Regions from separate parts of the Homo sapiens genome. Here region 1 is linked to region 2. The links are contacts of gene promoters, found by promoter capture Hi-C in blood cells and fetal thymus (Javierre and others, 2016). All regions are on one chromosome and are shown on one strand. The core of a region is centred on a gene start or on the middle of the fragment in contact, and the rest is flanking DNA. Distances in the headings are between cores, read along the strand shown. Region 1 holds the start of KRT78 (keratin 78). Region 2 holds the start of KRT2 (keratin 2).

Region 1 (5,256 bases), core at 1-2,500, 200 kb before region 2:
TTACAGGTGCCTGCCACCACGCCTGGCTAATTTTTTGTATTTTTAAGAGACGGGGTTTTACCGTGTTAGCCAGGATGGTCTCGATCTCCTGACTTCGTGATCCACCCGCCTAGGCCTCCCAAAGTGCTGGGATTACAAGCGTGAGCCACCGTTCCCAGCTTAGGAGTATTTTCTAAATGCACCTTGCTTTTTTTTTTGAGATGGAGTCTCACTCTGTTGCCCAGGCTGGAGTGCAGTGGTACGATCTTGGCTCACTGCTCAACCTCTGCCTCCTGGGTTCAAGCAATTCTCCTGCCTCAGCCTCATATGTAGCTGGGATTACAGGTGTGCACCATCACACCTGGCCAATTTTTGTATTTTTAGTAGAGATGGGGTTTCACCATGTTGGTCAGGCTGGTCTCAAACTCCTGACCTCCAGTGACCCACCCACCTCGGTCTTCCAAAGTGCTGGGATTACAGGCGTGAGCCACTGTGCCCGGCCCTAAATGCACATTTCATTTCAGAGCCTGGGTGGCTCTGATTTGTAACCTCAGGAAGCGGAGCCTGATGGCAGGTGGATGGGCCTGGCCCCAAGTGCTTGTGGAAGGAGCAGAGCCACAGGCTGGGTCAGAAACGTGCTGTCCCATGCGATCCTGGATGGAGATGCCTGATTTCAGTGGGTGGTGCCTCATGGATGATTGCTGGGTTGGGCAAGAGGAAGGACTTGGAAACCCTGTTTTTCTGTTTCATTTCCAAATCCTGGAGTGTCTTTTAGCCAACTATGGCAATAACACCTCCACTAACCTCCTCTCTTTGTGGCGCTGCAAGTGCCTTCCTTCTCCAACTCCTTGAGGCAGATTCTCCCTTGAGAATCCAGGGCACTCTGATGCTTCCTCTGAACCCCTTCTAGCGTTCTTTCCTCTTCAACCTCCTCTCGCTTCCCTGTCTCCTTCAGGAAGCCTTCCCTGAGGGCCTCAGTGACTTTGCTCCGGCCATCCCTCCCTGTCCCTCAGCACTGACATCCCAGTCTCCTGCCTGCTTCCTTGTCTTTGGGCATGCCTATTTCTCCAACAGCCTGGGAGCTCTGAGGGCAGGGTCTGGGTTTCCTTCTCCCTTGGCTCTGCACGTGCCGGACACTTATTCTCCAGGCACGTCAGAGTAAGTCAGCTGGAGCCAAGTGACAGACACAGTCAGGTCAAGAGTATCTTGCTCTCCAAGGCCCAGCCCAGGTACGGGAGTGGATAAAAGTCTCGTGCTGGGGCCCCAGGGCAGAAACTCACACACCTTGACAATCTGTCTGTCCGTCTGCAGCTGCGTGACTGTCTGTCTCTGCCATGTCTCTCTCCCCATGCCGGGCCCAGAGGGGCTTCAGCGCTCGCTCAGCCTGTTCTGCTCGCTCAAGGGGCCGCAGCAGGGGAGGCTTCAGCAGCAGGGGCGGCTTCAGCAGCAGGAGCCTTAATTCCTTTGGGGGGTGCCTGGAAGGCTCTCGTGGGAGTACCTGGGGGTCAGGGGGTAGGCTGGGGGTGCGGTTTGGGGAGTGGAGTGGTGGGCCTGGGCTCTCCCTGTGCCCTCCGGGGGGCATCCAAGAAGTGACCATCAACCAGAATCTGCTGACCCCACTGAAGATTGAGATCGATCCCCAGTTCCAGGTGGTGCGGACGCAGGAGACCCAGGAGATCAGAACCCTCAACAACCAGTTTGCTTCCTTCATTGACAAGGTGAGGGTCAACTCAGCCAAGCCCCTGTCTCTGTGCCTCCCTTGGAGGAGCTGCTCTTGATGGACTTGGAAATGGGAAGTTTGGCCTCCTTCTACCACTTTTCTAATAACTTCTGCAGCAAAGAAGTCCCTCCTGTGGACTAACTGGACTCTCTCTGGCTATGCTGAGGCCCTGTTGTTCCATGATTGGGGCTCAGGGACAGAGAACTGCCAGCCAGCGGGGGGAAGGCCCTGCCCCATTAGTCAGTCCAGTCATTTTGTTGTGTTCAGAGTGTCATGGAAGGTCATGAGGCTTCCCCTGCCCAGGTTGGGCAGGGGGACAGGGGAAAGGTGAGGCTGATGGGAGGGTCCCTCAGGCTTTACTTTCCAGAGGCTGTGCACAGGGAGTCCCACAGGAGCCTCAGGGATCCTCTGCTTTTGCTGCAGGTGCGGTTCCTGGAGCAGCAGAACAAGGTCCTGGAGACGAAGTGGCATCTGCTGCAGCAACAGGGGTTGAGTGGCAGCCAGCAGGGCCTGGAGCCTGTCTTTGAGGCCTGCCTGGATCAGCTCAGGAAGCAGCTGGAGCAGCTCCAGGGAGAACGAGGGGCTCTGGATGCTGAGTTGAAGGCCTGCCGGGACCAGGAGGAGGAGTATAAGTCCAAGTAGGCACACTGAAATTTCCCCATGCCATGTGGGCGGGGTCTGGGATGACTCAGTTTGGGTCTGTCAGCCAGGAGGTGTCCCACATACTGAGCACCCAGAGGCACATGACTGGCCTCCCCTCTACCCCTCCGCGTCCCCATTCCCCAGGCTCTCAGGTGCCCACCTGCTACAGGTAAACGAGGTGTCCCGCAGTCCCCAAGCAGATCTGGAGAACCTTGGAGGAAAGGCAGGGAGACCGGTGTCCTACATGCCCCAGCTACAAGGGCCCATGTTTCCGGTCAAGGCTGGGAAGGGCTTATTTAAACAATGCCCCAGTGGCTTTTTTTATTCTTGAGAAATTCCTGTTCAGCGGGCTGTGGGCTAAAGTGATTCAGATGTTCTCTGGTTCCAAAGAGGGAAGGGAATCAATTTAGTGGGGCTGTCCCCAGGCCTGTGACACAATTCACAGATGGGCTGTGGTTCTGGGCTCCACGCCTAGGTCACCTGGTGGAGTGGAGAGAGCCCTGGACTAATAGGGGGCTTGGGTTGGGGCAACTGTGAGTGAGGGGTAGCTGTGCATCCTGGGCAAGGCATCTCATCTCTCCCGGACTTGGTTTCCCTTCTGTAAACTTGGGAAATGTCACCTGCCCTTCTGGCCTCCCAGGGCTATTGGGATAATGGGATGTGAGGTGGAGGAAGGAAGGTTCTGGAAGGAGCCCTGGATTGGGGTCAGAAGACCTGGGCTGGCTCTGCTTTGTCTACCTAGTCATCTGTGGGGTCTTGGTCAAATCATCTAATCTCTCTGATAAAACCCAAACTGCCTACCTCAAGTGATGGGTGTGAGTAGCAAGTGGGAAAAGGTATTCGAATGTGCCTTATAAACTGAAACAATGTGGCTGTCGTCATCAAAAGGACATGGGCTGAAAGGGTGGCACAGGTACATAGCTAGGACGTGGCAGGAAAGGAGAGAAGGGCTGGTTATTGTCTTGTTTGGGGGCATTCTAAGGCAAGGAGTCCTTTTCAGGGAGGTCATGCTCGGACATGGGGGCATGAGCTCTGACCGTGGAGCCTCAAACTGCATCCTTCTCTACTTATTTGGCAGGTATGAGGAGGAGGCCCACAGGCGTGCCACACTTGAGAACGACTTTGTGGTCCTCAAGAAGGTGAGGGTGGGGGCCAGTGCTCCACTTACGTTCTGAGCATCCACTGTGCACGGAGCCTAGTCCTAGGCTGGGAGGGAAAAGGTGGGAGGTCCTGATTTAGGACAGGCTATCACTCTACCTGCAGGGGTCCCCTGGGAAAATGGGACATCTGCCTAGACACAGGGGCCCCAAGGCAAGATCTGACTAAAGGACTGCTTGACGAGCTCTTGATGTCACTGCAGGAGAGGGCGGGGAGGGAGAGGAAGAAGCAGAACTGGTTGTGATTAATCAGGGAAGACTTCCTGAAGGTGATGTTGGGTCAATGTTGGGCAAAGGAGAGAGCAGGACAGAGTGGGGCTGGAGGAGGAAGGAGGGGGTCTTGGGAGGCATGGTGGATGGGTGTTGAGCAGTGCATGAACAGAATTCCTGAGCCAGAGTAGGGACCCCAAAGAGGAAGAGGGGGTTACGTGTTCTCTCTCCCCTTGTCTCCAGGATGTGGATGGGGTTTTCCTGAGCAAGATGGAGTTGGAGGGCAAGCTGGAGGCTCTGAGAGAGTACCTCTACTTCTTGAAGCATCTGAATGAAGAAGTGAGGCTCAACCAAAGGGCAGGCTGCAGCCAAGAGAGAGGACTGGGTGGGCAGGCTTCCTGTGGCCATGAGGAGAATGGCCAAGAGGGGAAGTCTGTTAGGGTGGCTTAGATTCTGGGTCATTCAGTCACTTGACAACCAATTACTGAAAACTTACTATGTGAATTGCTAGGTCCTGGGGATACATCAATGAATAACCAGAAAAAAATCACTACAGATAAAAAAATTGCTTTTTTTTTTTTTTGAGATGGAATCTTGCTCAGTTGCCCAGGCTGGAGTGCAGTGGTGCAATCTCAGCTCACTGCAACCTCTGCCTCCCGGCTTCAAGCAATTCTCTGCCTCAGCTTCCCAAGTAGGTGGGATTACAGGCACCCGCCACTGCGGTCAGCTAATTTTTGTATTTTTAGTAGAGATGGGGTTTCACCATCTTAGCTAGGCTGGTCTTGAACTCCTGACCTCATGATCCACCCGCCTCGGCCTCCCAAAGTGCTGGGATTACAGGCATGAGCCACCACGCCCGACTAAGTTTGCTTTCTATTGGGAGACAGACAATAAGCAACAGACTTAGTAAATAAGGAAATCATATAGTATGGAAGAAGGTGATAAACGCAATGGAAAAAAGGAAAATGAGAACAGAGAAAGGAGGATTGGGAACATGGAGCAGGTGCCAACTTCAAATCATGTGGCCAGGGTAGGCCTTATTTAGGAGATAAAATCTGAGCAAAGATTTGGAGGAGGTGAGGAAGGTCACCACGCAGGTGGGTTTCTGGGATTCCAGGCAGTGGCTGCAGCCCACAGCGGGAGTGTGCTGTCTGAGGAAATGCAGGAAGGTCGGTGTGGCCAGAGTAGTAGGAGCGAGAGGGAGAGGAGTATGATAAGAGGTCTGAAGATGGCTGGGCACGGTGGCTCATGCCTATAATCCCAGCACTTTGGGAGGCTGAGGCAGGTGGATCACCTGAGGTCAGGAGTTCGAGACCAGCCTAGTGAAACGCTGTCGCTACAAAAACACAAAAATTAGCCAGGCTTGGTGGCAGGTGCTTGTAATCCCAGCTACTAGGGAGGCTGAGGGAGAAGAATGGCTTGAACCTGGAAGGCAGAGGTTACAGTGAGCCGAGATCACACCACTGCACTCCAGCCTGGGCAACAGAGTAAGACTCCATCTTAAAAAAAAAAAAGAAGAAGAAGAAAAAAAAAAGAGGCCTGAGGAGT
Region 2 (5,134 bases), core at 2,307-4,806:
GGCAGGTCCAGAACAGGGAGCAGCATTCTGCAGAAGGTCCTTTTCCAGATTGAGAAACCCAAACCCTGATCTCCTCTTTTGATGATTTTACAAAAATCAAATTGCATGACAGATGCCCAGATAAACAGAAGTTTGCAATCAAAGCAAGTTCTGGGATGGAGCTGATTAGTAGATTTTTAATGGCTATTAGCTTGATAATCACGCACCAGGAATAGCTCCCAGGCAGACCAAACCCACGTATAAGTGGATCCACACCCATGTACACAACACCTAGTTGGCAGGTATATAAGGGGACCCTGAAAGCCTCCCAGCAGCACAGTTGAGTCTCCAGCCTTGACTCTTCTCAAGAGCCTGTGACTTTCCTCCCTGGACAAAGGCATCATGAGTTGTCAGATCTCTTGCAAATCTCGAGGAAGAGGAGGAGGTGGAGGAGGATTCCGGGGCTTCAGCAGCGGCTCAGCTGTGGTGTCTGGTGGAAGCCGGAGATCAACTTCCAGCTTCTCCTGCTTGAGCCGCCATGGTGGTGGTGGCGGGGGCTTCGGTGGAGGCGGCTTTGGCAGTCGGAGTCTTGTTGGCCTTGGAGGGACCAAGAGCATCTCCATTAGTGTGGCTGGAGGAGGTGGTGGCTTTGGCGCCGCTGGTGGATTTGGTGGCAGAGGAGGTGGTTTTGGAGGCGGCAGCAGCTTTGGAGGTGGCAGCGGCTTCAGTGGTGGTGGTTTCGGTGGAGGCGGCTTTGGTGGAGGCCGCTTTGGAGGTTTTGGGGGCCCTGGTGGTGTTGGAGGTTTAGGGGGTCCTGGTGGCTTTGGGCCTGGAGGATACCCTGGTGGCATCCACGAAGTCTCTGTCAACCAGAGCCTCCTGCAGCCTCTCAACGTGAAAGTTGACCCAGAGATCCAGAATGTGAAGGCCCAAGAGCGTGAGCAGATCAAAACTCTCAACAACAAATTTGCCTCCTTCATTGACAAGGTGACTCTGGAGAAGACGGCTCCCACTGATGCTCAGGCCACTTCACTTCCAGAGCCAACCAAAAAGAAAATGGCACAGATTTGTATTTCTTAGGAGCCAGTGGTGTACCGCAGTAGCCTGGGTCATTTGCGGTTTCCAGATGGAAAAGACGCCAGCTTTGTGGGTTACATTTCCCATAACAGCCTGCACTTAGGAAGCATTTGTCCCTTTGACCTTATTGTTACAGTCCATATAAATAATATTTATGGAAAATTCTGAAAACCATAAAAAATGGATATAGGCAAGTATTGAACTGATCCTTGGGACAGGCCACTGGAGCAGCAGGTTTTGGAAGCCATCGTCTTCTGAGATAGTGTTTCCTTCCTTAGCAGTGATTACTAAACTCTGGGAAGCTGAACCTGAAATATCTGCTTGGGAATGCAGGAAATTCCTGCCTTCAAGAGAAGCGTTCTCAGTTTTGTGATCCATAAAGTCTTTATTGGTGTCACTTCGGAGTGTTACTGGCTTTTCTCCTATTTCAAGGCAGACGAACCTGTCTTGGTTTATCTGCCTTGAAATAGGCAGGGATTTACAAGGCTCTTAAAAATCAGGCTGAGGAGCCCTGCCCTCTGGGACTCTCATACTCAGCACCCTTGCGAGCAGTGCCAGCAGATGGCTGCTTTCGGTTTTCCCCAGAATTTATGGGATCTTGGCTGGAAATTCAACCAGGATGCGGGGAGGGAAATGGTCTAGAGTATTGGGAGCAGCTGCAAACAAACCAGTGAGCAGTGAAGCAGCAAAGAGTCTCCTCTGCGTGGAGAGAGCCGGATGTAGCATTAGGAGTCTGTGGGACTTTCCAGGGGCGAAAGCAGGGAGCTCAGAAGCTCTGCCAGTCATGACTCGGCATCCAGCCTCAGACACTTCTCGAGGTCCTGAAGCAGCACCTGAGCTGCCCCTGGCCAGCGTGGCTTGCTTGGTGTGAAGGATGATCTAGAACTCATGTGCTCTCCTTCTGGTCATGGCAGGTGCGGTTCTTGGAGCAGCAGAACCAGGTGTTACAGACCAAATGGGAGCTGCTACAACAAATGAATGTTGGCACCCGCCCCATCAACCTGGAGCCCATCTTCCAGGGGTATATCGACAGCCTCAAGAGATATCTGGATGGGCTCACTGCAGAAAGAACATCACAGAATTCAGAGCTGAATAACATGCAGGATCTTGTGGAGGATTATAAGAAGAAGTAGGTGGCAGAGTGAAACGCTGAGTGGAGATAAACATTGCACTGAGCCATTTGATCACTCCCTGGAAAGCCATTCATCTCCCAGTTGCATTTGTGGTGGTAATGGGGAGAGGCATATGTATCTTTGTTGATTATTTGTGAGGAAGACAGTGAGACTTTAGAGATCATTTTTGTCTTTTGTATGTTTGAGAGTTAGTTTATAAAAATATATCTTTAGTTTGGAAATCTTAGTTTCAATTTAGATATTTAAAAAGTGTGTAATATTCCCAGAGAATGGGGCATTTGGGGTGAATCCAGTATAAAAGGAAAAGAAAAAAAATGAAGGGGAACTAATCTAACTGCTGTAACATCTGTGTCCCAATAGGTATGAGGATGAAATCAATAAGCGCACAGCTGCTGAGAATGATTTTGTGACGCTTAAAAAGGTGAGCGAGAGAATGTCTTGGCTGGGGGTGGGGATAGGAGTGCTTCACAGCCCCATTGTGTCTAAGCAGCCAGTTTGGAAATCAACTGTGAGTGCAAAAGCAGCAGCCAGAGAAAGGAGTGAGACCCATGGCACATTCTCTTGCAAACAAAATTGTCTCTGTAGGTCAAGCTTCTGGATACAGTTTTCAAAGCTGTTCTGCATTTTTGGTAGAGTGCTTCCCAGTAGTAACCCACTTAAAGCCTCTACTGAATCATGATAAATGCAAACACAAAAATCTCTTTGTATTCTCCTTCTAAAGAGCTGAGGAAGGAATGGGACTTCCCTTAGAATGCCTGCTTAAAGTTGCTGTTGGTTGTGCTGACAAAGGTTTGAGGTTGTAGGCCAAAAGCAAGGGTTCTCCTGCTGGGTCCTGCAGGGCCTTTGGTGTATATTCTGGGGAAATTTCGGAGAGGTGAGATGGACAGACGGGATGAGAGAGCTGAGGACTGTGGAAACCCACAAAGAACATCGTATCCTGTTGTAGAAACACACAGTGTCTCAAGCAGGAGAGAGGGGCTGGTTGGCAAAGCTTGGTCATCTCGAGGCTCTGATGGTCCTGAGGGCTGTGAGCCATGGACGTAGGCATGAAGTCCCTGGCAGAGGTGTATGGTAAACTGCACGACAAAAGAAGTCCCATGGGGACAGGGATCAGGTTGGGGAGCCTGGGATTTTAGAGAGGAGCCAGCAGGGACTGAGTAGAGGGGAGTGGCAGAGAGAGGAAGAGGCCTGTACAGGGAACCATACACCAGAGGCCTCAACCTTTCTTGCAGGACGTGGACAATGCCTACATGATAAAGGTGGAGTTGCAGTCCAAGGTGGACCTGCTGAACCAGGAAATTGAGTTTCTGAAAGTTCTCTATGATGCGGTAAGGAGGCTGCTCCGGGACAGTCCCTTACTTCCCACCCTTCTCACCAAATGAAAGTCCTTTCTGCTTGGTGAAAAAGTGGCAGAAGTGGGGTTTATGGACCAGCTGACTTCAATCTGCCATCATTCCAGGCCACTGGGGGGGCTTTCATAGCATAGGTCTTGTGGGTGAGGAATTTTCTCCTCCGATGTTATGGGAATAAGGTTCAGGAAACACCAGGACAGCTTCCCCTCCCTCCATTCCCCAGATGTCCATTTCCCCTGGGGAAGAGACAAGCCCTGTGCCCATTCCTGTGCCTACTGTACTTCAGAGGTCAAAATGCATTTGTCTCCTATCCCCCTCCCCAACCCAAGGGTGCACAGATGATTTCTGAAACAGGAAGTCCATTTAAGGTATTTGCCATGGACAAGCTTCTGTCTGGGGGCACTTACCATAACTGGCTTAAGTGCTGAATGTTAACTAGGAGGCTCAGAAATACAGGTGCCTCTCACTACAATTCTCAGGACAACCTTGGGAGAGGCCCAGGAGTAGACGGTTACATGATTTTCATCCCACCTAGTGTATGCTTAGTCTGAGGGTCTGCGTTTCCCTTATGCTGGGAGACAGAGGCCTCCTGTCTGCCTGTAGCTATGGCAGGATGTCATGACCAGACCTTCCTGTGTGTTGTAGGAGATATCCCAGATACATCAGAGTGTCACTGACACCAACGTCATCCTCTCCATGGACAACAGCCGCAACCTGGACTTGGATAGCATCATCGCCGAGGTCAAGGCCCAGTATGAGGAGATCGCCCAGAGGAGCAAGGAAGAAGCGGAGGCCCTGTACCACAGCAAGGCAAGTAGAGGGAATGTAGGAAGAGCCACAGCTCCCTGCCATGAGCTGGGTTGCACCCCCAGCTGGAAAGTGTACAGTAAGGTTATTGGTTTTTTGTTTAATGGTAGTTGGGCACCATTCCCAAGAAAGGATGTTGAGAATGGCACCAAGTCCTTTTGGGCATGTGAGACAGTCCCTACCTCTCATGAATGCAGCCATGACATTTAGCTGGGTTGACCCTCCCTGGACCAGTAACCAGCTCTCCTTCACTCCAGTCAGTCTGGAATGTGAGCCAGGCTGGAACTTCCTTGCAAACTGTCCTCTTCTCCCCATATCAGTATGAGGAGCTCCAGGTGACTGTCGGGAGACATGGAGACAGCCTGAAAGAGATCAAGATAGAGATCAGCGAGCTGAACCGCGTGATCCAGAGGCTGCAGGGGGAGATCGCACATGTGAAGAAGCAGGTGAGGCCCAGCCCTGTCCAGCGAGGGGCGGGAGGTTGTCTCTGGGTGTGCGTGAGAGTGTGGTTGTGTGTGAGTGTGCATGTGAGAGATGAGAGACACTGAGATATTGCACTCTAGCATGTATCGATCCCAAATTCCCCAGCTTAACATAATTTATGGCTTATTATAACAATTCTTAGAGTGCTCTAATAGACATTCCAAAGTAAGGATTATCGAAGGGAAAGAATTGTGCTCACTTGTTTATATGAGGAAAAGGGAGTCATAACAAATAGAGCAAACGTTAGTTTGATTGATTTGCTGCAGATTGCCGATGGAGCTTCCCGTTTGTGCTCAGCACAGG

What was found. Contacts are between HindIII fragments. The CHiCAGO score rates a contact against its expected background, and 5 or more counts as called.
Region 1: a contact is called between the fragment with the promoter of KRT78 here and a fragment that was not itself captured in region 2, in 3 of 17 cell types (naive CD4 T cells, total CD4 T cells and naive CD8 T cells). The highest score is 8.4, in naive CD4 T cells.

What each region holds. Positions count from the first base shown.
Region 1 is chr12:52,844,988-52,850,243 of GRCh38, reverse strand. It overlaps KRT78 (keratin 78), which reads left to right and starts at 1,250. Exons shown (of 9, transcript NM_173352.4): 1 at 1,250-1,697; 2 at 2,123-2,337; 3 at 3,420-3,480; 4 at 3,952-4,047. The coding sequence starts at 1,314. The HindIII fragment of the contact is 13,226 bases long and covers 1-5,256 here.
Region 2 is chr12:52,647,390-52,652,523 of GRCh38, reverse strand. It overlaps KRT2 (keratin 2), which reads left to right and starts at 313. Exons shown (of 9, transcript NM_000423.3): 1 at 313-966; 2 at 1,971-2,185; 3 at 2,550-2,610; 4 at 3,422-3,517; 5 at 4,187-4,351; 6 at 4,669-4,794. The coding sequence starts at 382. The HindIII fragment of the contact is 747 bases long and covers 3,183-3,929 here.